Linked DNA regions of Homo sapiens: regions 1, 2 and 4 are each linked to region 3. Evidence: promoter capture Hi-C in human tissues and cell types (Jung and others, 2019). All regions are on one chromosome and are shown on one strand. The core of a region is centred on a gene start or on the middle of the fragment in contact, and the rest is flanking DNA. Distances in the headings are between cores, read along the strand shown.

Region 1 (6,771 bases), core at 4,272-6,771, 510 kb after region 3:
CTCTGCCCACAGAGCAGCGGGTACAGGCTTTCCCCGGGAGCCTCACAGGTCAGGAGTGAGACTAGGACGTCCACACCAGCGGCTTCCAGCCCCATCTCGAGGGTCAGGAGCCACCCAGGGGACCTGCCCAGTTTGGCCTCTCCAGTACCTGGATGGTGAGGGGTCTCCGAGCCCTGGCCACTGACAGGGCTCTCCCAGGGCCCCGCCCCTCACTTTGACTCTACGCCCCCACAGGAGGCTGTGCACACCGATTCCTTGGAAGGGAAGATTGACAGCCCTAGGGACACCCTGGATCCTGCAGAGCCTGGTGAGAAAACCCCGGTGAGGCCGGTGACCCAGGGGGGCTCCCTGCAGTCCCCACCACGCTCCCCACGGCCCGCCAGCGTCCGCACTCGTAAGCATACCTTCGGACAGCGCTGCGTCTCCAGCCGGCCGGCGGCCCCAGGCGGAGAGGAGGCCGAGGCCTCGGACCCAGCCGACGAGGAGGTCAGCCACATCACCAGCTCCGCCTGCCCCTGGCAGCCCACAGCCGAGCCCCATGGCCCCGAAGCCTCTCCGGTGGCCGGCGGCGAGCGGGACCTGCGCAGGCTCTACAGCGTGGATGCTCAGGGCTTCCTGGACAAGCCGGGCCGGGCAGACGAGCAGTGGCGGCCCTCGGCGGAGCTGGGCAGCGGGGAGCCTGGGGAGGCGAAGGCCTGGGGCCCTGAGGCCGAGCCCGCTCTGGGTGCGCGCAGAAAGAAGAAGATGAGCCCCCCCTGCATCTCGGTGGAACCCCCTGCGGAGGACGAGGGCTCTGCGCGGCCCTCCGCGGCAGAGGGCGGCAGCACCACACTGAGGCGCAGGACCCCGTCCTGTGAGGCCACGCCTCACAGGGACTCCCTGGAGCCCACAGAGGGCTCAGGCGCCGGGGGGGACCCTGCAGCCAAGGGGGAGCGCTGGGGCCAGGCCTCCTGCCGGGCTGAGCACCTGACCGTCCCCAGCTTTGCCTTTGAGCCGCTGGACCTCGGGGTCCCCAGTGGAGACCCTTTCTTGGACGGTAGCCACAGTGTGACCCCAGAATCCAGAGCTTCCTCTTCAGGGGCCATAGTGCCCCTGGAACCCCCAGAATCAGAGCCTCCCATGCCCGTCGGTGACCCCCCAGAGAAGAGGCGGGGGCTGTACCTCACAGTCCCCCAGTGTCCTCTGGAGAAACCAGGGTCCCCCTCAGCCACCCCTGCCCCAGGGGGTGGTGCAGATGACCCCGTGTAGCTCGGGGCTTGGTGCCGCCCACGGCTTTGGCCCTGGGGTCTGGGGGCCCCGCTGGGGTGGAGGCCCAGGCAGAACCCTGCATGGACCCTGACTTGGGTCCCGTCGTGAGCAGAAAGGCCCGGGGAGGATGACGGCCCAGGCCCTGGTTCTCTGCCCAGCGAAGCAGGAGTAGCTGCCGGGCCCCACGAGCCTCCGTCCGTTCTGGTTCGGGTTTCTCCGAGTTTTGCTACCAGCCGAGGCTGTGCGGGCAACTGGGTCAGCCTCCCGTCAGGAGAGAAGCCGCGTCTGTGGGACGAAGACCGGGCACCCGCCAGAGAGGGGAAGGTACCAGGTTGCGTCCTTTCAGGCCCCGCGTTGTTACAGGACACTCGCTGGGGGCCCTGTGCCCTTGCCGGCGGCAGGTTGCAGCCACCGCGGCCCAATGTCACCTTCACTCACAGTCTGAGTTCTTGTCCGCCTGTCACGCCCTCACCACCCTCCCCTTCCAGCCACCACCCTTTCCGTTCCGCTCGGGCCTTCCCAGAAGCGTCCTGTGACTCTGGGAGAGGTGACACCTCACTAAGGGGCCGACCCCATGGAGTAACGCGCCCGGCCCCGATGCGAATCAGGCCTCCCCTACATCTGGGGGCGTTGGCCGCGAGATTCCCATTGACACCTTTGTTTCGTGTGCTTTTAAATTCAGGTTAAATGTTGCAATAATCTGATGCAGAAGACTCAGCTTCTCAAGGGAGAGGGAGGGGGCGGAGCGGAATAAATAGTAACTTATTTAAGAAATGCACTTGGATTCCTGCCATCAGTCAGGGGCGGGGAAGGGAGTACCATCCGCAGATGGGTGCAGCAGGCACTTGGCCAGCAGGACACAGGAGACTAGCAGAAGGAAGAGGCCGGGGAGGAAGAAGCCAGCCAGGAGGGGGAGCCTGGGGTACCCAGACTCTGAGCCCCCTGATGCTGTGATGTGGCGGCGGATCCAGTTCACGTAGGCAGGGACACGAGTGTAGACTCCCGGCCTGTTGGGGCGGCCGCAGCCCTCACCCCAGCTCACAGTGCCAGCCTGCACCCAGGCACCGTTCACCTGGCAGACCAGAGGCCCCCCGGAGTCGTCCTGAGGACAGAGAAGGCGAGCATTGGGAGCCGAGAAGATGGGGAGCCCCTCCCTGGGCTTCAGCCGCCCCCATCCTCTGTCACGGCCTGGCAGGCTCACCTGGCAGGCATCCCCGGGGCCCCGGGCACACAGCATGTCGGGCTGAAGGATGCTGCCCCCGGGGCCGGGATAGTCCCGGCGGCAGGTCTCTGTGTCCACCACGGAGACTTTCACCTCCCGCAGGCTGTACGGGGGTGGCAGAGGCTCTGGGGTGGGGGGAACAGGCTTCAGAGAAGGTTGGGGCACCAGGCCCTGCACTGGGGGGATGGGAGACCTTGCCAGACACAAGTCCCATGCCACCACGACCCTCGTCACGGCACGTGGGTTGTGATCTGACGTTTGGCTGCTGCTTTGGATCCACACGACAGGCTTTGAAAAGGGACAGCCGATAGGGGCGGCCTTGGCTGGGTGTGGAAGCCACCAGGAGCAGGTGGTAGCATCAGCATCCCTCAAGCCAGCTCTCTTCCTGCCGCCCTTGCCTTCCTCCATCCCAGCATCCCCACGGGGGCTCCTCACCTCCCTCCCGCGTATAGCCCCAGCCGGTCACCCAGCACCGGATCCCAGGGCAGAAGTCATCTGAGGCCTCCGGGAGGCAGACGGGCAGGATCCGGCTGGAGAGGGTCACGGGGACACTGAGCTCCACCAGGGCGATGTCCCCGCTGGTCCCCGGCTGTCCTGAGGGGCTGGAGTGCAGGATGATCTGCCTCACGGTGGAGAAGTGGGGAGACAGAGTGATCTCCAGTTCCCCCAGGTGCACCTGGTAGTCGGATGAGTTCAGGGACCTGGGAGGGAAGGTGGCTGGGTGAGAGGGGCCAGCTGCGGAGGCTGGAGGTCAGTGTCGGCCCCGCCCAGACCCTACCCTTGCAGGCATCCGAAGCCCAGCTCTTCCCTCCTAGGCTTGGGACGCAGAAAGCCTGGGCAGTGGCCTCACCCTGCAGGGCCCAAGGACCACGGCAGCACCTTGGGGTTCCTGCCAGCCCCTGGAAAAGCCAGCAGCATGCCCGACACCAGCAGGGGCTGGTCAGGAGGCAGATTGCAAGCTCAGCTCCACGTGAAGAGACCGAGGGGAGGGAAGGAGGGAGGGAGCTGTCCATCCCTAGAGGTGAGCAAAGAGCTGCAGAACCTCACAGAAGGTGGGCAACCAGCTCCTCCCTTTCCATTGGAAGGAAGTAGGCTCAGAGTTCCCAAGCCTCGGAGTGAGTCAAGACCAAGTGGAGGCCTCTGCGCTGGCGCATGCCCCACTGGGGCCTGGACATTGAGACTGCCCCTGCCCACCCGGACACTCACCCGGAGAAGCAGTGGGCAGCTGTGAGCACCCACTGGGGGCTGAGCAGTGACCCGCCGCACACGTGCACCCTCCGCAGGCGGAGGCTGGCCTGCCATGGCCATGCGCCGGCCGGGGCAGCGTGACCCCCCACGATCCGGCCGCCTGCATCCGAAACCTGCGGCCGGCCACACCCTAAGTCGAAGGAGGAAGGGGTGCCTGGTGGGGATCCCAAGAAACCCACTGCACTTCCTCCATGAAGCCTTCCCTGACCACACCTCCCTGCCTTCTTGGGGACTTTGCTCTTCAGCTCTCTCGTCTGCCAGACTCTCCCCAGAAGCATCGTGGGTGCAGCAGAAATGACGTCTCAGGAGCAGTGAGCGCGCCTGGGGCTCAGGTCGTCCTTTCTAAGCACCATGCTCCACAAACTAACCAGGGCTCCCGGAGGCGGTGGAAAGGCTGCAGAGGGCCCCTAGGCGGCTAGAAAGGGGCTCAGAACGGTGGAGCCCCCGAGAAGGCCCGGGGTGCTGGGGGTGGCTGCCTAGTGGGCCCCGGTTTTCCTTCAGGGGTGGTGGAGATATTCGAAGCTGGATAAAATTCGGGGGGCGGGGGGCAGACAGCACTGTCCAAGGTGCTCGGGGCCTCTGAATTGGACGCTTGATAATGTAACTTTATCTTCTGTAAACTTCACCTCAGTAAGTTAAGAAGAAATTAAGAGGAAGTCAGCTGGAGACCCACTGGCCACACCTGGGTCTGCCTGAGCTGGATAATTGTGCTGGTGATGGAGTGTGGCCACTGGGCTGAATGGAAGGGAAGCTGGGATGTAGACAGACAGAGATGTTTATAGATAGGCAGCGGGTGTGGGGTGGGGCACCGGCTCTCCCACACGGCAAAGCCCCCAGCTGGTTCCAGGGCCACGGTGGGGACGCTGTGGGGAGAAAGTTCGAGGAGGGCCAGGTTGTTTCATGGCCTCAGAGCATCTCCCAAGGTACAGACTGACTACAGTGGTGGTGGGGGAGACAGCCCTGCAGCACACCCCGACCAGCCCCACTCAACCGAGAGATGCGAGCAGAAACCACGGCGACAAACTATGACCTCCCCGGGCCCCCATTGGGACCCCAGGGAAGGAGAGGGTCACCGAGGCCCTCCTGCCAGGCCTTGCCTGCACCCTCCCCCACACCCCACACCTGTCAGAGACGTACCTGGCTGCAAAGTCCTGAGGGACACACCTGTGGGAAAGACGAAGGGCCCAGGATGGAGGGGGCTGCCAAGGAGAGGGGTGTGCGGGCTCCAGAGGCCCCTGCCAGGCCTCAGGGCGGCACTGGGGTGGGGCCTGGTCCTGAGCAGAGGGGCCCGGCCTGGTGAGGCTGGGTCAACTGCTGTCTCACTGGCCCAGGGCTGGGTGGGACAAGCCACAGGCCATAAACGGCAGCTGGAGGCCGGGAGCTTGGCCTCAGGCCTGGGCCTCCTCCCCGCCCTCCAGGTCCTGCTCAGGAAAGAAATCACCAGTGTTCTAGGGCCTGGGACTCCTGGCACCCCCAACTCCCACCCGCACCCCCAACTACCACCCGCCCTGCCAACTCCTGCACCCCCAACTCCCACCCGCACATCCCTCCTGCCTCTCCCCAGCACGGACAGCTGGGCCTCCAGCCAGGGGTGCAGTCTCTTCAGAGGAGACACGGGGCCCCACAGGGTGGGGACTCAGCATGTTTCTCCGTCTCAGACCAGCCCCCAGTTTCACCCCCATCAGGGGTCCAGGCAGGAAGCAGATGCCCCCCCATCCCCACACCCAGGCCAGGTCACCCACCGGGCACAGCCAGGAGCAGCAGGAGGCCACAGGCCCCAAGGGCCATGGTGTCTGCCCACTGTAGGGAGAAGGAGGGCCAGCCTGACCCTTGGACCTGCTGGGCGTGGGGGATAGGGGTGGCCACACACCTGCTGTCAGGCAGGGCGGGAGGACGGAGGAGGAGGCCGGAGCTCCACAGACGGCCCCACCTGTTCCTTCTGCACCTCAGAGAAGGGTCGTCACCTCCATTTATCCCTGTGTGGACGCCACAGCCCTGGCACCAAGTGGCCGGCTCCGTCAAGGGAAAGCGGGGAAGGACAGAAGGCAAAAGTACTTCTCACCTTGTCTCTGCTCCGGGGCCAGGGCTGAGGGAGGGGTGAGTGTTCCTCTGAGTGCCGCCCCCTCCAAAAATTACTCCCTGGTTCCCTCGGGGCACGCCACCCCCTCTCCTTCATCCTCTGGGAGCCCAGTCCTGGGGGTTCTTCAGGAGGGTCCCAACTCAAGGCCCAGCAGCCCTTTGGAGACAGCTCAGGCCCTCGTGACAACCACTCTTTGAGAAGTCCCTGTCCCCACGTCCGGCAGCAGGTCCTGTGCTCGTGCGGCAGATCAGATGGGCACCACTTCACGGCCCAGCCTGGGTTGGCCCTTCCTAACCGTCCTGGCTGCCCCAGCCTGATGACTCAGCTGATTAGGGGCCCTGGGCAGCGCCCGGGACTTTCCTGCCGCCCTCCCCAGATCCAAATCACAGGCCAGGCTGGAGGGTCCAGCTGAGACCTTCTAGGTCAGGGATCCCCTCTTTGATGTGGGGAAACTCAGCCACGGGTTGGGGGGAGTTGCCTGACCACCCACCAGGATGTGGCCTCCCAGGCACAGACGTGGCCGCCTGCACGCCAGCACGTGGGGTAGCCAAGGCTCAGAACTGGAGGTTCAGTGTTTTTCCTGGTGACCAATAAGGACAACACCAGCATGCGGGGCCAGCAGTGCACCCACGGCCGGGCACCCTCCTCCCTCACGGCAGCCGCACACCTGGAGGGGGCGCCTCAGGGGAGGCAGGACAGTCCCACCCCACACAAGGGAGCGGGGTCTGAGCCACGAGTCCCCGGCCCAGGGTGCCCCTAACAGGGCGATGTCACCCAGTGGGGAGGGAGCCTGAGGGGCAGGGTCTTCATGGAACCAGGTCCTCTAGTCCTGACCTCTAGGGCTGTCCCCAGGTCCCCACAGGTGGGGACTTCAGGGCCCTCACCTGTCCCAACTCAATTCACCTGCAGCACTGGGGACCCCGTCTTTCTGCCTGTGCCCCAGCACGCCACTCCCCGCAGAGTGCTCCACACG
Region 2 (6,934 bases), core at 4,435-6,934, 320 kb before region 3:
AGGCTGAGGCAGGAGAATCATTTGAACCTAGGAGGCAGAGCTCGCAATAAGCCAAGATCATGCCATTGCACTCCAGCCTGGGCGACAGAGCGAGACTCCGTCCAAATAAATAAATAAATAAATAAATATTTAAAAAAATAAAACAGGTGAGAGACCTCCATGTAGGGCAATGCCCTCCCTACATGGGTGTAACAGTCGTAGGGCTGGGACAGAATTCAGCTGTCCTGATCCCCCCGCTGTCCCACCCTGCAGGTATCTTTTTGAGCACCTTCTACAAGGACCATCCAGCACATCCATAGGAATGTTCCAGAAATCCACGGCCGTGCTCAGCCCTGATTCCTCACTCCACCTCATCCTCAGTCAGGCTCTGGGGCCCTCTGAGTGGTGCCACTCCAAGAGTGAAACCAGATAGGCAGTCCATGCTTTGGATGGCAGTGAGACCCAGACGCAGTTCCAGCGCTGGCCTCTGAGCGGCAGTACAGCCCCATGGACCACCAGAGCCCCTGAAGCCCAGCTCTGGTTGGAGGTGATGCCACTCTGCACCTCCCTGGCTGCTGTTTGTATTAGTCATCTATGCTGCATAACAAATACCCCACAACTTCATGATGTAAGCAGCACACGTTCATTATCTTCCAGATTCTGTGGACAGGAGGCTGGGTGGGGCTTAGCAGGGAGCCTCTGAGTCAGAGGCTCTCACAGGCTGTGGTCAAGGTGTCAGCCACGCTGAGGTTACCCCAAGGCTTGACTAAGGGGGGATGTACTTGTTTTTTTTTCCAGACCGGGTCTCGCCCTGTTGCCCAGCCTGGAGTGCAGTTGAACAGTCTCAGCTCACTGTTCCCTCTGCTTCCCAAGTTCAAGCGATTCTAGTGCCTCAGCCTCCCGAGTAGCTGGGACTACAGGCGTGTCACATCCCACCAGGCTAATTTTTGTATTTTTGGTAGAGACGGGGTTTCATCATGTTGGCTGGGCTGGTCTCAAACTCCTGACCTCAAGTGATCTGCCCACCTTGGCCTAGCTAGGTGCTGGGATTACAGGTGTGAGCCACTGCACCACGCCCACTTTTTTTTTTTTTTTTTAAGAGATGGGATCTCGCTCTGTTGTCCAGCCTGGAGTGCAGTGGCACAATCACTGCTCACTGCAGCATCAACCTCCTGGGCTCCAGCAATCCTCCTGCCTCAGCCTCCTGCAGATTCACTTCTAAGCCCACCTATGTTGCTTTTGGCCAGAAACATCAGTTCCTTGTCATGGGGGCCTCCGCACAGGGCTGCTCACAACAGGGGAGCTGCTTCTCCCAGGAGGTGGCGGAGCAGCAGCAGCTGCAGTCTTTGGTGACCAGATTGTGAAAGTGACACTCCGTCTCTTTTGCTGTGTCAGAAGTCAGTCACCAGGCATGGTCCACACTCAAGGGGTAGGCATTACACAAGGAAATGAACTGGGTTTTGCTTTTCTTGTTGAGTTACGAGAGTTCTTTTTTGTTTTGTTTTGAGACAGGGTCTCATTCTGTTGCCCAGGCTGAGTGCAGTGGTGCGATCACAGCTCAATCCAGCCTGGACCTCTTGGGCTCAAGCAATCTTCCCACCTCAGCCTTCCCGGTAGCTGGAAATACAGGCGCACACCAACACGCCCCGCTAATTTTTTATTTTTTTGTAGAGACAGGTTTCACTATGTTTCCCAGGCTGGTCTCAAACTCCTGGCCTCAAGTGATCCTCCAACCTCTGCCTCCCACAGTGCTAAGAGTACAGGTGTGAACCATCCCATCACGCCTGGCCAAGAGAGTTATTTATTTATTTATTTATTGAGACAGAGTCTTGCTCTGTCTACCAGCCTGCAGTGCCATAACACAATCTCAGCTCACAGCAACCTCCGCCTCCCAGGGTCAAGCAATTCTCCTGCCTCAGCCTCCCAAGTAGCTCGGATTACAGGCACCTGCCACCAGGCCCGGCTAATTTTATATTTTTAGTAGAGACAGGGTTTCTCCATGTTGGTCAGGCTGGTCTCAAACTCCCAACCTCAGGTGATCCACCCGCCTCAGCCTCCCAAAGTGCTGCGATGACAGGCATGAGCCACCTCGTCCGGCCCAGCATAATTTTTTTTTTCTTTTTTTAAGATGGAGTCTTGTTCTGTCACCCAGGCTGGAGTGCAAGGGCACGATCTCAGCTCACTGCAACCTCTGCCTCCCGGGTTCAAGGGATTCTCCTGCCTCAGCCTCCCGAGTAGCTGGGATTACAGGTGCATGCCACCACACCCAGCTAATTTTTTGTATTTTTAGTATAGACAGGGTTTCGCCATGTCGGCCAGTCTGGTCTCGAACTCCTGACCTCAGGCGATACACCCACCGCAGCTTCCTAAAGTGCTGGGATGACAGGCGCGAGCCACTGCGCCCAGTCTCAGCATGTTTTTAATGTGCAAAATAAAATACAAGGAAATAAAAATATAAAAAACTATACTGAAATAAATTATCAAAATATTGTAGGCCAGGCCGGGCGCAGTGGCTCACACCTGTAATCCCAGCACTTTAGGAAGCTGCGGTGGGTGTATCGCCTGAGGTCAGGAGTTCGAGACCAGACTGGCCAACATGGCGAAACCCTGTCTATACTAAGAATACAAAAAATTAGCTGGGTGTGGTGGCGAGCACCTGTAATCCCAGCTACTCGGGAGGCTGAGGCAGGAGAATTGCTTGAACCCAGGAGGTGGGGGTTGCAGTGAGCTGAGATCATGCCCTTGCACTCCAGCCTGGGCAACAGAGTAAGACGATGTCTCACCAACAAACAAACAAAATATTTTAGGCAGCGGGGCGTGGTGGCTCACACCCGTAATCCCATCACTTTGGGAGGCCAAGGCGGGTTGATCACAAGGTCAAGAGATCGAGACCATCCTGGCCAACATGGTGAAACCCCATCTCTACTAAAAAACAAAAATTAGCCGGGTGTGGTGGCGCGTGCCTGTAATCTCAGCTACTCAGGAGGCTGAGGCAGGAGAATCGCTTGAATTGGGAGGCGGAGGTTGCAGTGAGCCAGGATTACACCACTGCACTCCAGCCTGGCAACAGAGTGAGACTCCATCTCAAAAACAAAAACAAAAACAAAAACAAAATATTTTAGGCCAAGTGCGGTGGCTCAGGCCTGTTTTCCTAGTTACTGGGGAGGCTGAGGCAGGAGGATCGCTTGAGGCTGGGAGGTGAAGGCTGCAGTTGAGCTATGACTGCACCACTGCACTCCAGCCCAGGTGACAGAACGAGACCCTGTTGCTAAAAAAACAAAAATAAAACATTAAAAAATGTACGATATAGTGGCCGGGCGCGGTGGCTCATGCCTGTAATCCCAGCACTTTGGGAGGCTGAGGCGGGCAGATCACAAGGTCAGGAGATCGAGACCATCCTGGCTAACATGGTGAAACCCCGTCTCTACTAAAAATACAAAAAAAAAAAAAAATTAGCCAGGCGTGGTGGCAGGCGCCTATAGTCCCAGCTGGAGGCTGAGGCAGGAGGATGGCGTGAACCCGGGAGGCGGAGCTTGCAGTGAGCCGAGATCGCGCCACTGCACTCCAACCTGGGTGACAGAGTGAGACTTCGTCTCAAAAAAAAAACAGAGTACGCTATAGTAATATCTGCTTTTTCCTTTTTGCAATAGCTTTATTGGGATACAATTGACATACTATACACTTCACTCATATATTTTTTGTTTATTTACTATTTTTTTTCAAGAGACAGGGTCTTGCTATATTGCCCTGGCTAGTCTCAAACTCCTGGGCTTATGTGATCCTCCTGCCTCAGCTTCCCAAATTGTTGGGATAATAGGCCTGAGCAAGAGTCCAGCCTCTAAAAAGAAAGAAAGTCACTTCTTTATACCATAGTACTGCAAATTCTAGTCAGAGCAACTAGACAAGAAAATAAAATAAAAGGCATTCAGATTGGAAAGAAAGAACTGAAACCGTCTCTATTCCCATATGACATGATGTTTTTTCTTTTCTTTTTTTTTTTTTTTTTGAGACAGAGTCTTGCTCTGTTGCCCAGGCTGGAGTGCAGTGGCATGCTCTCGGCTCATTGTGAGCTCCACCTCCTGGGTTCAAGCCATTCTCCTGCCTCAGCCTCCTGAGTAGCTGGGATTACAGGCATGCACCACCATGTCCAGCTAATTTTTGTATTTTTAGTAGAGACGGGGTTTCACCACGTTGACCAGGCTGGTCTTGAACTCCTGACCTCGTGATCCGCTCGCCTCGGGCTCCCAAAGTGCTGGGATTACAGACATGAGCCAGTGTGCCCCGCTCCATATGACACAATCTTATACAAAGAAATTCCCAAGGAATTAATTAAAAACTATTAGAACTAATAAATGCATTTGGAAGGCTTGCAGGATACAAGATCAATACACAAAGCTCAATTGTTGGCCAGGCGTGGTGGCTCACGCCTGTAATCCCAGCCCTTTGGGAGGCCAAGGCGGGTGGATCACCTGAGGCCACGAGTTTGAGACCAGCCTGGCCAACATGGCGAAACCCCGTCTCTACTAAAAATAAAAAAAAACACCAGCCAGGTGTGGTGGCAAGCTCCTGTAATTCCATCTACTCGGGAGCCTGAGGCAGGATAACTGCTTGAACCTGGGAGGCGGAGGCTGCAGTGAGCAGAGATATGCCATTATTGCACTCCAGCCTGGGCAACAAGAGCGACACTCTGTCTGAAAACAAACAAACCTCAATTGTCTGTTATACACTTGCAATGGACAATTCAAATAAGAAAACAATTCCATTCACAATAGCAGCAAAAAGAACAGGCTTTTTCAAGACTCATTAAGTAAGTTCTAGCAGTGGGAGACCTAACCATTTCAAATAGTAGCATGCTGTGCTATCTACCCAAATATTACCGTACCTGTGAATTCTGTTGGTGACAAAGTCACAGGCCCTGCAACTATGAATGTGGCTTCTTCCTTATATCCGCAATTGAATGAATTAGAGGAATGCAGTCACATCAGAGGCCATTTGAGAATAAAGGTCGGATTTTTCCCCATTCAAATTCACAGACCAGGCTCACATCTGTAATCCCAGCACCTTGGGAAGCCAAGGCAGGAGGATTTCTTGATCCCAGGAGTTTGAGACCAGCATGGGCAACATAGGGAGGCCCCATCTCTACAAAAAATTAAAATATTAGCTGGTTGTGGTGGCGCGGGTCTGTAGTCCCGCCTACTCGTCCTGGCCGCAGAGTCAGCGTCTCCGGAGCGCCTCCTTCTCCCGCCCTGGGGCTCACGTGGGAATTTCACCCTCCATTGGAGGGGGCTCAGACCAGGGCTTCTAGACCTCCTTTTGGTCCGTGAATTTATTTTTGAGACAGAGTCTTGCTCTATTGCTCAGGCTGGAGTGCAGCGGTGCAGTCACAGCTCACTGCAGCCTCAATCTCCTGGGCTCACGCGATCCTCCTGCCTCAGCCTCCCGAGTGGGCCTTCCTCCGTGGGAAAGCGTTAAAACGATAGTTAACGGTTGCGTCGGTGTAAAGACGAATGCAATTCGAGAAGGATTCATTATTATTTTGTTTTTTCTTCTGATTTTTAACAGAAATTGGCGTTGAACATTTCCCCCGTGAGCGCCGGGCCACGGGGGTCCGGGGCGGCGGGGGGCTCCGGGGCGGCGGGGGGCTCCCGGGCGGGCGGGGGCGGGTCTCGGGCTGGCACCGCCCTCCGCGCCCGCTCCTCGCGCTCACAGCGGCCCGCGGGCCGGGCGTCATGGGCGGCCTCTTCTGGCGCTCCGCGCTGCGGGGGCTGCGCTGCGGCCCGCGGGCCCCGGGCCCGAGCCTGCTAGTGCGCCACGGCTCGGGTGAGTGGGGCCGCGCGCCCCGGCGGGGACGCGGAGGGGAGGAAGGGGCGCGCGCCGCTCGGCCTTTGTGCGCGCACGTGCGGGCTGGGGTCCGACTCCCCCAGAGGCCTCGGGGCGCGGGCTGCGGGGTCCGTCCGAGTTGGGGAAGGCGCCGGCTCGCACCCGCACGCCCCTCCAGTGCCCGTCCGGCTCTGCGGCTCCTTCTCGCCTCCCCAGGCCCCAGGCTGCAGGCGCCCGGCGAGTTGGCAGCCTGGGCGGGTCCGGGGCGACCGAGGGCCCGGGAGCGCAAGGAAGGCAGAGGCCGGCTGCAGCACTGGGCGGGGAGGGGGTCTCCCGGCCGGGGTGGGGGTGGGGGTGTGGGGGGGTGAGGGAGTCGGGGGGTGGGGGTGGGGGTGTGGGGGGGTGAGGGAGTCGGGGGGTGGGGGTGGGGGGAGCCGCTCCGCTGGGGCGTTCGCTGAAGGCCAAGTTAGGCCAGAATCTGACTGGGACGTCAGGCCCCAAGTCCCCGGCCCCGCCGCTGCCCGGCCCCCCCAGCTGCCACCTCACAGGACGATCCATGTCCCAGGGCTCCCTCCATCGGCTCTGAAAAGTGAGCCGCCGCCTGCAATGCCCGCACCAGCCGCAGCAGAGCCCCAGGCTACACAAGGCGCCCTGCAAACTGGGTTTTGGGGGAACAAACCAACCAGGGGGTCTTCCTCCCGTGGGCTTCAGCCGCCTGCTGGGGTTAACTTTTCCTCCTGGCCTGGCGGAGCCCCTTTGGCTCTGTCCAGATTCTGTGGGACATACAGGGTCTGGGCTCCTCTGGAAACCAGGGACCCGATGCCGGAGGGTAGCTTGGCTCTGGAGCAGCCTGGGACTATAGGAAGGTGAGGACGTCTTCTGTTTCCCTGGCAGCGTCCCCTCCAGAGGAGGACGGCTGGGGCGGAGCTCAGCGCTGACCCTGGGTCTGGAAGCGACAGGCCTTGAAACTCCACAGCAGCACAGGCCCCGTCTCCTGGCTCGGACAGAACCCTGCTACCTTCCCTCTTCAATCTTCAGGCCCCTTTTTGTCCGTGTTTCCAGGGCTCACCTGGTGGGGAAAGTGTGTTTCTCCCTGGTTCCCTGCCACTCATTCACCTCAGACACAGGGTGGGCT
Region 3 (6,941 bases), core at 4,152-6,651:
CCATAGCAACACGCGTCGCCTAGCAATGGCGGTCTCCCGGCAACGGTTGTCTCCTAGCAATGGGATATTTTCCTGGGCCCTGGCTGGAGCCCGGCAGTTATTTTTAGCTCCACAGCAAATCAGTCGGCAGCTGCATTTTCGGCTCCTTGAAGAGAGGCAAGGTGTGGGGGGGTGGGTCTCTCGGCAAAGGGAGGAAAGCATCCCCAAGATAGGAATCTTGCTGCCGTGGGCCCGGAGGTGCAGGCCTGTGGGTGGGCGAGGCCGGATCCTGCCTGTGCAGGGGGGCAGGTGGCCGGTGGAGGGGAGCCAGGGGTTGTGCAGGCTGCCTGGATGAGTCGGCAGCTAGGACTATGTCCTTGATGGGCCCCCAAGCACCCTGAGCCTCATAGGTCGGCTGGGTAGAGGGGACGCAGGCCAGTGCTCACAGCTGCACTATCAGAGCATGTTTCTGGGTGGCCCAGGGTCTGGCAGGCTCTTGGCACCCAGTGCCCCTCAGCTGTGGGAGCCATCTTCACTGTCCCAGACCCCAGCTCCACCCAGGGAGGGGGCAGCAGGGCGGCCGCAGAGCAGCACATTTGGCCAATCCCGTGCAGGGCTCAGCTGGGGACACAGGAGGCGCTGGCTTCAGGTCAGCCCACACCTCTCTCCTCGCTCCGCTGCCAGTGAACAGAGACACAGGCGGGGGTCTTGGCCTACGATCTGGCCCTTCTCTCTAGGCTTCCTCCCCATTTCCTGGGGGATCCTGTTCACCGGTGCGTCCAAACTCCCCAACTCCCTCAGGGCAGATGGGCTGGGTGGGGCCGGCCTTACCCGCCTCCCCTTTGCAGCAGGTCAAAGGCTCTGAGGCAGATGGAGCTTCAAGCAAACAAGGAGCCCCCAGGGCTCACCCTCTGTGGTTCCTGGTTTACTCGAAGTTCTGTCTGCCTCAGGGCCTTTGCCCCTCTTCTCCCCAGGGTTGGGGCTCCCTTCCTGCCCCCCCATCAACTCCCCTCGTCCTTGATGTTGCTCCCCCAGGGCCCCAGCCAGCCAGCTCCTGCCCTGGCCGTGACAGCTGCTATTCTGTGCCCGGCACTGTGGTGTCCCCAGCGGGTTGTTCGGCACTCCGTGGCGCAGCCACCTGTCCGCAGCCGCTCCCCTGCGGGACGTGGGCTGCCTGTGCCACGCACTGCTGGGGCCCAGCTCATGGCAAATGCAGCACTGGTGTCCTCCACGGGCCGGAACCTGTGTCTGGGGGGAGAACGCAGTGGCCGAAGGTGGGAACCATGTGGCAGTGACCAGGGTCTCGACCGCCCCCACCCCAGCACCCCCTCAGGCTGCAGCTCCAAGGGCCCTCTGGGCAAGACAGGAACAGAAACCAAGTCTCAGGCTTCGGGACAAGCTGTGAGGCTGGCCGCCCTGCCTTGGGCTGAGGGGCCTTGTGATATGGCGTCTGTGTTTGGCCACGGCCAGGCTGACCCGCAGGCGGGAGAGATGATTGTCCCAGACTCTGCACTCTCCAGGGGTGGCCTCACGCGCTAGGCCCAAGGTTTCTGAAACAAAGCCTCAGGGAAGTTCTTCCTTTTGTCTGACTTGAGTATGTCTTGCTGCTGTCGCGTTCTGACTTGGGTGGAAATGGAGAGAGGCCCCTTCTGGGGTTTCAGGGCACTCAAGGGTCTGGGGCTTGGGGCACTTGAGGGGGCCCCCAAACAGCACAGACAGCCACGGCATCACCTAAGCTTGGGGATGCCTTCCAGGCACTCCTCCGCCCAGCCACCCCCCACTTAGTCTGCTGGTATTTACTGAGCACCAGCACCCTGGCAAGTCGGGTCCTGTACCCATAGCAACTGAGGACAGACTCGGCCTTCCAGGCCCCTCCTGTAGGCAGCACAGCACTCACTGATGCCAGGTGCTTTCCTGGGTGGGGCCGGGGGCTGTGAGGAAAAGGGGTGTGTGTCCAGGGCTTCTCCTGTGGGTGGCTGCATTGGCACCGGATCCCCGGAGATGAGGCTGGGGAGGAGGCAGGGACGCCCGGGGTTGAGGCGTCAACTCGGGGCCAGGCATGTGCCATTCCAGACCAGGTCACCCCAGGAACCCCTCCCTCCAACCACAGACACTGGCCCCTCTCTGGAGGAGGCCTGGGGAGAAGTCCGGGGCCCAGGCTGTCAGGAGGGTGTCTGGGGCTGACCCTCACGCCGCCACCAGAGGGCGCCTGGAGCCCACCGTGCTGACCCGGGGACCGCCAAGCGGCAGCAGCCCTGGACGGCTGGGTGGCTGCAGCGGCCGACCCGTGTGCCTCTCCCCACCTCTGCGAGCACCTCATGTGCTCAGCCCCAGGCCGAGTCTACCCTTTAACCTTTACGATTTTTATATTTTATTTATTTATTTTTTAATTTTTATTGAGACAGGGTCTCTTCTGTCGCCCTGGTTGGAGTGCAGTGGTGCAATCACAGCTCACTGCAGCCTCACCCTCCTGGGCTTAAGCAATCCTCCTGCCACAGCCTCCCAAAGTGCTAAGACTACATGCATGAGCTGCTGCACCCAGCTAATTTTTGTAGTTTTAGTGGAGTTGGGGTTTCAACATGTTGGCCAGGCTGGTCTTGAACTCCTGATGTCAAGCGATCATCCTGCCTCAGCCTCCCAAAGTGCTGAGATTACAGGCAGGAGCTGCCACACCCGGCCTTAATTTTTATGTAATTAATTAATTAATTTTTATGAGACAGACTCTCACTCTGTCACCCAGGCTGGAGTGCAGTGGCCTGATCTCAGCTCACTGCAACCTCCACCTCCCGGGTTCAAGCGGTTCTCCTGTCTCAGCCTCCCAAGTAGCTAGGACTGCAGGCGTGCGCCACCACGTCCAGCTAATTTTTGTATTTTTAGTAGAGATGGGGTTTCACCATGTTGGCCAGGCTGGTCTCGAACTCCCGACCTTGTGATCTCCCTGCCTTGGCCTCCCAAACTGCTGAAATTACAGGTGGGAGCCGCTGCGCCTTGACAATTTTTATTTTTAATTGTAAGATATACATCATAACATCTACCATTTTACCCATTTTAAAGTGTGCAGTTCCGTACTGTTGAGTACATTTGTGTTGTGTAATCAAGCTCCTGAATTCTGTCCCCATTAAGCTCCAATCCCTCATTCCCCTCCCCAGCCCCTGCTCCACTTTCTGTCCTCATGACCGTGACTACTCTAAGGTGACTCACAGAAGTGGAATCCAACAGTGTTTGTCCTTTTGTCTCTGGCTTATTTTGCTCAGCGCATAAGCCTCCAGGCTCATCCAGGCTGTAGCGGGTGTCAAGGGACCAGAACTTCATTCCTTTTTATGGCTTAATAATGGACCCACCGCCAGGGGGTGCCGTGGCTCATGCCTGTAATCCCAACACTTTGGGAGGCTGAGGTGGGCGGATCACCTGAGGTCGGGAGTTCAAGACCAGCCTGACCAGCATGGAGAAACCTCGTCTCTACTAAAAATACAAAATTAGCCGGCATGATGGCACATGCCTGTAATCCCAGCTGCTCGGGAGGCTGACGCAGGAGAATCGCTTGAACCCAGGAGGTGGAGGTTGCAGTGAGCCAAGATCGCGCCATTGCACTCCAGACTGGGCAAAGAGCGAAACTCCATCTCAAAAAAAAAAAAAAAAAAAAAAAAAAAAAAGAGGCCGGGCGCGGTGGCTCACATCTGTAATCCCAGCACTTTGGGAGGCCAAGGCGGGCAGATCACGAGGTCAGGAGATCGAGACCATCCTGGCTAACACGGTGAAACACCCTCTCTACTAAAAAAAGAAAAAATACAAAAATTTAGCCGGGTGTGGTGGCGGGCGCCTGTAGTCTCAGCTGCTCGGGAGGCTGAGGCAGGAGAATGGCATGAACCCAGGAGGCAGAGGTTGCAGTGAGCCGAGATCGAGCCACTGCACTCCAGCCTGGGCGACAGAACGAGATTCCGTCTCAAAAAAAAAAAAAAAAATGGACCCACTGCACTTGCTTGTCCACTCAGCTGCAGACAGGCCTTTGGGAGTCTTCCACCTTTTGGGGATTGTGATGGCTACTTCTGACCTGCACCTCGCCCAGAGCAAGGGGCTGGCCGAGCCCAGTAGGCGCCTTGTTCCTGTTTGGCCTGGGAGGGCCCTGGGGTTGAGGGAGGGCCTGGTCAGTGGGATCCAGCCTCCCACTGCCACTGAGCCATCTGGCCTCATCTGTCCGACTGCCACTGGTGAACTCATCTGTCCACCATGAGTTTCGAGCGCCGGGTGGCAGGAGGTTTGGGGGCAGGGGACGGAATGTTCACATCTTCAGGCTGCACAGTCTATGCTGGTCCTTGCAGTCCCCGGCTAAAGCTTCTGTCGTCCGTAAGGGGTTCAGTATGTAGTGGGACCCCTTTGCTTGTGCCTTAGGCCTTCTGTGATCTGACCTGTCGTCCCCACCCACCACCCATGCCCTGGGGTTTCACTGGGCTGCCAAGAGCTCCTTCCTCAGGCCCTTGACCCAGGCTGTCTGCTCTCCCCCATTCTCTTCCTGTCCACCTGGCCAGCCACTGCCCACTTCCTCCCATCAGGCCAACTCAGCAGTCCCGGATGCTGGGAATCCCACACTGCTCCAGCCTGAGGCTACAGTGTGTTTGCGAATCGCCTGTTTCTGCTTGTTTCATCTTGGTGGGGGCTGCTCCTGTGGCCCAGGGGTGTCCTCCCAGCTCCTGTGTCTCCACGTGCTGCAGGCCTGCAGGGGTGCCCGTGGCTGCTCCATTCACGCCCCTCCAGGAGCCCCGTCTGGCCCGGGGTCGGTCATCCGGCAACTATGGGGTGCCGCTAGGTCTGAGGAAAGGGGCCTAAGCCTGCGGGCTGCGCGCTCTTCAGCAGGACCCCCTCCTGCAGACGGCCTTACCAAAACCCGAGGCCTGGCCCCGCTCCAAGGCGCAGCCCCCAGGCCAGGCCTTCCCCGCCTCTGGAGTCATGACCCCTCTCCTCTGGGGCTCCACCGGCCTCTGGTCAGCAGGACCGGACCTGGTTGGGAGGGATGTGGCCAACAGGCCCAGGTCCCAGTGTTAGGAAGGAGCAGGCCCGGCCGCCCGCGAGGCGGAACCACCAGGTGGGCCACCTTCCCTACCGCCACCCCGAGGTTCCAGTGGACATCAAAACCTCGGCTCCATCAGAGGCTCCAGGACTCCGATCGGGACAGCGCGGGGGGCGAGGCCAGGGTGAGGGCGCGGCGAAGGAGAGACGCACAGCGCGGGGCGGGCAAGGAGCCTCCCTTCCGCGCCAAGGCCCCCCCCAACCCTCGAGGCGCTTGGACCGTGGGATAGTCCTCCGGCGGCGCCCGAGCTCCGGCCCCGCCCCCGCTCCGCCCCGCGCCTGCTATTGGCGGAAAGTTCCGGGCCGCGCCGCGACTGGCCGACACGCCGCAGGCCCCGCCCCCTTCCCGACCCGCTCCAAGGCGGCCCCGGCGCTGGGGCTGCGCGGCAGGCGGAGCGGCCGCGGGCTTGGGGGCTTCGCCGGGGCCGGGCGGCCGGCGCCCCCGGCTGCTCCCGCCGCCGCCCGGACCCGCGCCCCGCCGGGGCAGCGGTGGTGAGAGCCCCGACTCCCCGGACGCCGCCCGCCGTGCCATGGGGTTCCCGGCCGCGGCGCTGCTCTGCGCGCTGTGCTGCGGCCTCCTGGCCCCGGCTGCCCGCGCCGGCTACTCCGAGGAGCGCTGCAGCTGGAGGGGCAGGTACGGTCCGGGGGGCTGTCCCCGCACTTAGGACGGGGTGCGCTGCGGCTAGGACCCCCCAGGCGCCCCTCGGAGCGCGCAGAGCGCTGGGCCGGTTTCCCCATCCGCGAGGCGGCCTCGGGAGGGAGCGGGGGCTGCGCCGGGCGGGGACCCGCCCCCGTCTCAGCGCCCCGTCCCGTCCTGTCCCCAGCGGCCTCACCCAGGAGCCCGGCAGCGTGGGGCAGCTGGCCCTGGCCTGTGCGGAGGGCGCGGTTGAGTGGCTGTACCCGGCTGGGGCGCTGCGCCTGACCCTGGGCGGCCCCGATCCCAGAGCGCGGCCCGGCATCGCCTGTCTGCGGCCGGTGCGGCCCTTCGCGGGCGCCCAGGTCTTCGCGGAGCGCGCAGGGGGCGCCCTGGAGCTGCTGCTGGCCGAGGGCCCGGGCCCGGCAGGGGGCCGCTGCGTGCGCTGGGGTCCCCGCGAGCGCCGGGCCCTCTTCCTGCAGGCCACGCCGCACCAGGACATCAGCCGCCGCGTGGCCGCCTTCCGCTTTGAGCTGCGCGAGGACGGGCGCCCCGAGCTGCCCCCGCAGGCCCACGGTCTCGGCGTAGACGGTGAGTGGCGGTCTGGTTGGGACAGGGTGGGAGTCCCGAAGTCTTACCCTGCCTGGGCTTGGCGGGAATGTGCCTTGTCGGCCCCACTGCAGAAGGAAAAAGTGAGCTACAAGGGTTGGATGGGCTTGTCAGGCCACACAGCCTGGGACTGCTGGGGAGGGATGGCCTCCCCGCCCTCCCTTCCCGATTCATCTCTGGAAAGAGCTGGCAGGGGCAGAGTGGAGGGAAGGGGAGGCCGGGCCCAGCAATCCTGGGCCTCTGGTCCCTGAACGGTTGGGGGAAGAGATGGTGGGGACAGAATCGAAGCCTCCGGCCAAAGCTGTCCGGGGCTCCCTGGCCCAGCGGTGACCTCTCTCCCCTCCCCCAGCCCAACCAACAAAAGTCCAGTGTGCAGCCCGGTCACCATGGAGACGCCGCTCGCCTCCCTGCAGGGCACCAGGCCCAGCTCTTGCTTGGCTCTCCTGGAGCTTGGCGCCTGACCCTGAAAGGGATGGGCTCTCGCTATTCTGCCCCCTGGCCCTGGGCCAGGGACCCCAGACCACCCTTCCTCTGCCCCCACTTCCTATCACCCTAGCTGGGCTGCTGCTCTTCAGACCTCAGATCCGGGAAACTAGAGGGGTCCCAGATGCTGGGGTGCATATGTCAGATGGGAGTGCAGGAGGGCGGCCCAGGA
Region 4 (6,602 bases), core at 194-2,693, 280 kb after region 3:
TGGTGGGGACGGGGCCAGGGTCTGCTGCCCTGCCAAGGCCGCAGCACGCCTGGGGCCACACCAAAACCTCCACCCCTGCATGGGGCTTCCTCCCTCTCAGGGAGGAGAAGGGAGCGTGCTGTCTCTGAACGGGAGGAGGCTGTTGGGTGCAGACCCCCAGAGCTCTGTCTCCCCACTGGACACACCCAGGCAGCATCTCCTGTGCCCTGTCAGCCCCCAGTCCCACACTGGCCCCTTCAGGGAAGCATCCTCAGGCATTTTAGGGAAGAGGAAGGTCTGTGGCTCAGAGCAGCCCCTGCTTCTCCCTGGGCCCCCGAGGGAGGGTCTGCAGGAACGGATGGCCGCCCAGGCCGGGTCCTATAAGCACCTCCAGTGACCAGGCATCTCTGAGAGCTGCCGGTGCCTGCAGGGGCCCTGGGTGCTGAGCCTGCCCGCCTCCTCCACGGTGTCCAGCGCGGGAGGTTGCCAGCGGCAGGAGCGGCAGGGAGGCTGGGCAACCTGAGCAGGAAGCAGCCGGCTGGAGCATTTCCTTTCATTAAATACCCGCCCAGCTCCCCTCCCGGGAAGGAGGCAGGTCACAGGCCGTCCCCGGGCCTCACCACTTCAGGAATGTACGCGGTGCCGGGGGAGCTGTGGTGCCGTCACCGGGAGGAAGACAGAAGCTGGCGTGGCGGAGGTGGGCGTCCCCTCCCATCTGGCAGAAGAGTCATCTTCTTGCAAAAGGCGGGGATGGAGCCCGCTGAGCTTCCTTTGAAAACGAGACAGATGACATTTCAATCTTCCATGGGGTCTGGAGGCCTCACCCCACCCCCGCCTCCCGCTCCACACGCCCGCCTGTGAGGTTCGGGGCGCGGCTCCCCTGGGGAGGGCTCCCTGTCACCTGTTCCTCCCATCTGAGAGCTCGCCAGAGGACTGTGGGTGGCAGCGGGTGCGGCAGATCCGGCGTGTGGGCGCCGACTGCTCCTGCCTCACTGCCACGGTGCCCTCGGTTACCACACAGCCTGCGCGGGGGCTGGTTTGCAGGAAGCCCCCAGAGAGTCCCCACCCGAATCCTCCTTTATTTTAAATCTGTGAAGCTCATGTCTGCAAAACGCACCCCCGATCCCCCAGCCTAAGCTCTGAAAATGCTGTGGGAGAAGGGGCTCTGCTTCGAGTCGGATGGGTGGAGGGACCCTGGCTGGGGCAGCTCCTGGTGGTCCCTGCTGGCTGGCTCGGGCCAGGCCTGCCAGGAGCTGGCTGAGACACCGTTACTGTGTCTGGGAAACGGGTGCCCTGGGCCCCCTGCATGGCGTGTCAGAGGGCAGCGGGACAGACAGCAGGAGAGGAGTCTGTGGCTGGAACCAGGCAGGTGGCGCCCAGAGCCAGCTGGAGAGGCCCACGGGAGGCGTGAAGGCTGCTGGGTGCCAGGGCAGTGCTGGGCCCAAGTCAAGAACCCCTGGACAGGGCTCAGACTCCAGATCAGGGTTCCAGGCCATGACCCTGGCAGGTCCTCACCTGCAGTGATGCCAGCCTCGCAGGACCCATGGGGGGAAAAGGGGAAGGGCATAGGTGCCCTCGGTGCCCACAGGAGGCCCTGGGAGCTCTGGAGCAGGCAGGAGGTGCACACCAGGTGCCACACAGTGGGAGCAGTTGGAAGCAGTGAACTAGATTTGGGGACTGCCTCCTGGGTAGGTGCAGGGCAGAAGGAATCCAGCGAGCAGCAGCGTGAGGGCCCCGGCCCAGCCCGTTTGTGCGGATGGCCAAGCACACCCAGCGTGGGGGTTCTCCAAGGCCCAAGGAGGTTCTTCTCTCTAAGGAGGACGGCAGGAAGGCCCGGAGGCCTGGGCAGCCGGTGCTGGTGGGGAAGCAGGCAGGGAGGAAACTGACAGGTGGCATAGGAGCCCAGGTAAACCACCTGGCCAGGACTGAGGAGGGAGGCCACGCAGCAAACTGCATCCAGATTTCAGAAAGAAAGAGGAAGGGGGAAAGAGGGAAAGCCAGCTGGTTCCACGGAGCAAGCCGGCACGGGCATTCGCTGGTTCCCAAGGGGCCGGATGGGAACCGAGTCGGATCACGTGCCTGCCCCTGGCATGTGGTAGAGGACAGGTGGAGGGACCCCAGGTGGGGCAGCTCCCGGTGGAGCAGCTTCTGGTGGTCCCTGCCGGCTCCACCCAGATCTTTCTAGAAACTGCTGCCTGAAGGGGACATTTCTCTTCCTGGGAGGAGGGAGAGTGGTGTCCACTACCCTGGGCCCTGGACTGTCCTTGGCCCTGAACCTGCCTCTCCTGCCCATGCCTCTCTCGGCTCACATGCTGCCTCCTCCTGGAAGCCCTCCTAAACTGGCCCAGACAGAACCCTCTGATGGTCTCCTTCAAGGCCATGGTCACTGTCAGTAATCACTGTGAGGGGTGGGACTGCGTGGGTCCCAGTTTCCCCATCCCCAGGCTGTTCCTCCGTGAGGTCACAACTGACCCTGGTGCCTCATGCCAGGCACACGGAGCTGCTCACCAGCCCCCATGACCAGCTGAGCTGCTTCAAGCCACTGAGGGGTGGATGGAGGCTGGGTTTTGGGCCAGAGTCTGGAGACGCACTAGTCATGTCCTGGCCCCTGGGCTGAGCTCAGGACAGGTCCCCTCGAGCTGCTGGAGCCAGCAGTCATGAGCCAGCAGTCATGAGCCAGCAGTCAGAGGCCGATGTGGGGTAGGGCTCTGTGGACCTGCAGGGATTCCCAAGAGCAGGGAGGCTCTTCCGGGGCAGCTCAGCCAGCAGGGGCCAGGCAGGTCCGGGCACTGTGGGCTCCCTGGGGCTTCTGAGAGCCTGGCCTGGGAGGGTGGCAGGGCCTTTGCCCCCTGGGGGTGCCCACACTTTGGCACACCTGCTGGTGCTTCCCTGGCCCTCCCTGATGCCCGCAGGCTCAGGGCCCTCAAATCAAGATGCACGAGGCTGGGACTCCATTTAACCTCAGACAACACCGAGGTGGGGCCGGTAGCTGCAGAGCTGAGGCTGCACCTGCCGCCCCCTGTGAGGGCCGCGTCCCGTCCCTGGGAAGTACCAGTTGGGAGGTCACTGAGCGCCGTGTCTCCCGACCCCAGGAAGGTTCCTGAGTTTGGGATGAATTCCTTCTCCCACCCAAGTTTCTTAGTGACCTTGACAAGTGGCCTGGACAGCTGGTTCTCCAGCCGCGGCCAGAGGAAGAAGTGCTGTCGGCCATGGGACCGGGGACAGGGACCCCAGTTCCCTGACCTCCAGCCAGGAGCCCCAGGCCCTGGCGATGCCATGTGCACAGCGCACTCCCCGTGGCCTCGGCTGGGTGATGACCTGGGTCTGGGTGGGAACCTCGCTTCTCGGCCATGTGGGTTAAACTCGGGGATCTCGGCCTGCTTTGGAAAATTGAAACCGTATTTTTGCTCCTGGAGCTCCCCAAACCATTTGCACCTGGACTCGGAAAGCTCATTTGGACACAGAAGCCGTTTCTCCCCAGGAGATTTGATTTTCCCTGGAATGCCAGCAGGAAAGTCGGTGGGAAGCCAGGTTGGGGGTGTGGGAGGGCAAGCAGAGCGGGGGTGCGGGGAACAGGTGCCCCCGGCTCTGTGCAGTGGCTGTGGGTCCTGGGCTCCTCACTCAGCCCATCTGGGTTGCTCCTCTCCTGAAGACCAGGCCGTGCAGAGCAGGTTTCACGGGGTGGACACACGTCCCAGCTCATCACATGGCGGGGGCTCCTCCTGGCCTGGAAGGAAGGACAGCAGTGCGGTCTCCATGACTGGGGAGAGGGAGCTGATGGCTCCATTTGGCGGGGGGGGGTGGCGGCCGGGAAAAGCCCCCGGGACCCTGACACTGGCAGCTGTCTAAAGTCCGTGAAATCCCAACCACTGCTGGCCACGGCATCCTGGGCCCCGACGTGCAGGCTGCCCAGTGGCGCCTCTAGGAAAAACTGCTGGGTGTGAGGGGCAGATATGGGGGCTGCGAAGTGAAGCCTGGAGGTTGCGGAGTATCCACTGGAGGATCAGCCTGTCGGGGTTAGGCCCAGGGGTCCCCAAGCTGAGGGATGTTCAGGGCTAAAGCCAGGAGAGTCCCAGGCAGACGTGTGGACGGTGGGTCTCCCCTGTTCAGCTCCCCAGGCGCTGGCCTTTCGGGTCTGGAGGTGCTGCCCCTCCCATTCAGTGGGGTAGGGCCCTGCCTCGGTGCCCCCGGGACACGGCAGCTATGAGCACCTGGCTGGAGTGCTGAGGGCCTCCCAGAGCTGGGGCCCAGGTGGCTTGGAGATGCCTCCTCAGCTCAGCATTTACCGCGGGGTAGGCAGCTCCAGATGCCTGGAGCTGAGGGCCTGGCTGCGGGGGTGTGGCAGTGCCACATGGCTGCCCAAGTAAAGTGCCATGAGCCGAGTGGTTTAGAAAACAAACCTGTCCTCTCACAGGTCTGCAGGCCAAAAGTCTGAGATCAAGGCTTGGGCAGGGCCACGCTCCCCAATGAGACTCCAGAGGAAGATCCTTCCTGCCTATTCCAGCTCCTGGTGGCTCCAGGTGTCCCTTGGCTTGTGGCCACATCGCTCCAACCTCTGTCCCGGCTTCACGCGGCTGTCTCCTCTGCATGTCTGTCTCCTCCTCTGCTTCTATGAGGACACTCATCGCTGGATTTAGGTCCCACCCAGATAACCCAGGATGACCCCACTGCAAGATCTTTTGATCAATTACATCTGCAAAGACTCCATTTCCCAACCAAGCCAGAGTCACAGATTCCCAGGGTCAGCTGTGGCCACCGTTCAGCCTGAAACATGCCGCGTCACCTCACCCAAGCCTCACATCGCCCCGTGAGGAAGCCACCGTGGAGGTGAAGTTCAAGTTCTCACCACCTGCCCTGTATGATTTCTCCTCCAGGGAACCCTGGGTGTCCACGGAGGGGCCGATGGCTGTCCCTGGCCCGTCATGGGGCCCCAGCTCTGACACCTGAGCTTCTGAATTCACTTGTTTAGTTTTTCAGGAACATTTTTTCCTTCGGTGCCTTTCCAGGGAGCCCCAGGGGTGGGGGCGTGGAGTTCTCCCCTGGGCCTCCGAGGGGCTTCTGCTGCCTGAGGGGTCCGTCCAAACTGTAGCTCAGATCCGCCGCTGCTGCCCTCCTGGCCCAGCGGAATGCTGGCACCTCCAGGAGCTCTTGGCAGTGAGCCACGTGGTGGACAGTCCCTTGCTCTGAGGGCCCTGTCACCTGGGCACAGTTCAGGGTCCCTTGGAACTGGAGATGTGGCAGGAGGGAGGCCCAGCCCCCTTCTGGGCTCCCTGAGGCTCCACTGAATCTTTGGAGGGGAGAGACGCTGGATTCCTGGTGGTGACCTGAGGGCTCACACAGGTAAACCAAGCAAGACCGTGGGTCTGTGGCACCCCACATCTGTGCACCTGTGCAACCGCAGTCTGATGTCCCTCCCCGGTGAAGGGACCCGCACATGTGCACCTGCCGCAGCCCCGATGTCCCTCCCCGGGTGAAGGAACCCACGGACGTGGCTCATCCATACCGCGGAACGTGAGCCATGAAAAGGGGCAGCCTCGGCTCAGCCACCGCAGGGAAGGACTCGACACACGCCGAGCAGAAGAGGCCAGGCCTGAGAGGCCACCTGCGATTCCATCTGCGGAAATGCCAGAAAGGGAGGTCCGCAGACGCAAGAGCTGGACTGGGGGGACGGCCGAGGGGCGAGGGGTTTCCTTCCGGATGAAATTGCCCCAGAACGACATGCAGGGCGTGGGGAGGTGGCTGCAAGATACTGCGGCCCCGCTGGATGCCACAGCACCCCATGCCGTGAACGGCTAATTCTACGCCATGTGGATCTCACCTCAATCAAACAATTGGAAGATTCCCAGCAGCTGAGATGACTCACGTTCGGGGGTGACTCATCCAGGCCACCGGCATCGCGTCGCTTAAAGACAAGCCTGACCTTTCCCCAGAAGCCTCAAGACCACAGTGGCCTCCCACGGCGGAGGGCAGTGCCCAGGGCTGGTGTTCATCCAGGGCACGGGACAGGCCTGAAGTGCAGACATTTCCTCTGCCAAGCAGTGGACGCAGGCTCGGCCCCCGCTGGCCAGGGGCGGCTCTAAGTTTGGAAAAACGAAAGTCCCGTGGCAGAGTGGGCCCCTGGGGTGGGATCCTGGAGCCAGGGCTGGGCCAAGGTGTGGGTTGAGAGACCCGGGGGCCTTCCCTGCAGCTGGCATGGAGTGATGGGGAGGGGGTGCTGGGTGGAGAGGGAGCTATAGAGGCCACAGGAGGGGTCCCTAGCCTCCAGCACCATGGCCGTGGTCTGGGGGGCATCCTGGCAGCCCCATGGAGTGGCCGTGTCCAGGGACTGAGCTCCAAATGAGGAACCGTGCGGGGTCCAGAGACCCTGCACTCACGCGGCCGGGCCCCACCTGCTGCCACAGCCCCCTCATGGGCCTCGCTCACACCCACTCCTGCACACAGCATGCGGCCCCACAGCCCCACGCCAGACAGTGTCCAGGCTTTGTGGAAAGTGCTGCTCTGACGGAAGAGGCCTGCGCAGGTCCTGCTGGCCAGGAGCCCGGTGGTGGTCCCGGGAAGGGGTGGATGGCTGCCAGCTGCTTTCCTGGGAAAAGCCCAGAGCCCCTCATGCCCTGCACTCCTCT

The links. Contacts are between HindIII fragments. The study calls those that stand out against the background at their distance.
Region 1: the fragment with the promoter of TPSG1 here is called in contact with the fragment with the promoter of METRN in region 3 in 2 of the 25 tissues and cell types used here (lymphoblastoid cells and spleen).
Region 2: a contact is called between the fragment with the promoter of NME4 here and the fragment with the promoter of METRN in region 3, in 2 of the 25 tissues and cell types used here (dorsolateral prefrontal cortex and spleen).
Region 4: a contact is called between a fragment that was not itself captured here and the fragment with the promoter of METRN in region 3, in 1 of the 25 tissues and cell types used here (dorsolateral prefrontal cortex).

Annotation. Positions count from the first base shown.
Region 1 is chr16:1,219,747-1,226,517 of GRCh38, forward strand. TPSG1 (tryptase gamma 1) reads right to left here and starts at 5,522. Exons shown (of 6, transcript NM_012467.4): 1 at 5,461-5,522; 2 at 4,856-4,882; 3 at 3,677-3,848; 4 at 2,906-3,171; 5 at 2,450-2,595; 6 at 1,905-2,350. The coding sequence starts at 5,506. The coding sequence ends at 2,042. It overlaps LOC124903621, which reads left to right and starts at 5,505. Exons shown (of 2, transcript XM_047434997.1): 1 at 5,505-5,815; 2 at 6,708-6,771. The coding sequence starts at 5,505. CACNA1H (calcium voltage-gated channel subunit alpha1 H) reads left to right here. Exons shown (of 35, transcript NM_021098.3): 35 at 235-2,022. The coding sequence ends at 1,248. RefSeq lists a silencer at 4,374-4,560. The HindIII fragment of the contact is 15,330 bases long and covers 1-6,771 here.
Region 2 is chr16:391,515-398,448 of GRCh38, forward strand. It overlaps NME4 (NME/NM23 nucleoside diphosphate kinase 4), which reads left to right and starts at 5,685. Exons shown (of 5, transcript NM_005009.3): 1 at 5,685-5,799. The coding sequence starts at 5,709. It overlaps LOC100134368 (a long non-coding RNA gene), which reads left to right. Exons shown (of 3, transcript NR_024453.2): 3 at 253-1,446. RefSeq lists an enhancer at 5,276-5,325 and silencers at 5,616-6,105, 6,246-6,315. The HindIII fragment of the contact is 12,085 bases long and covers 1-6,934 here.
Region 3 is chr16:709,717-716,657 of GRCh38, forward strand. METRN (meteorin, glial cell differentiation regulator) reads left to right here and starts at 5,402. Exons shown (of 4, transcript NM_024042.4): 1 at 5,402-5,677; 2 at 5,868-6,268. The coding sequence starts at 5,574. RefSeq lists silencers at 2,144-2,273, 5,161-5,470, 5,571-6,000, 6,101-6,160 and enhancers at 4,418-5,016, 5,615-6,212, 6,213-6,810, 6,811-6,941. The HindIII fragment of the contact is 3,141 bases long and covers 3,014-6,154 here.
Region 4 is chr16:997,063-1,003,664 of GRCh38, forward strand. No RefSeq gene overlaps it. Among named protein-coding and RNA genes, the nearest start is that of SOX8, 19 kb to the left of the region's middle. RefSeq lists an enhancer at 4,840-5,496. The HindIII fragment of the contact is 5,735 bases long and covers 1-4,311 here.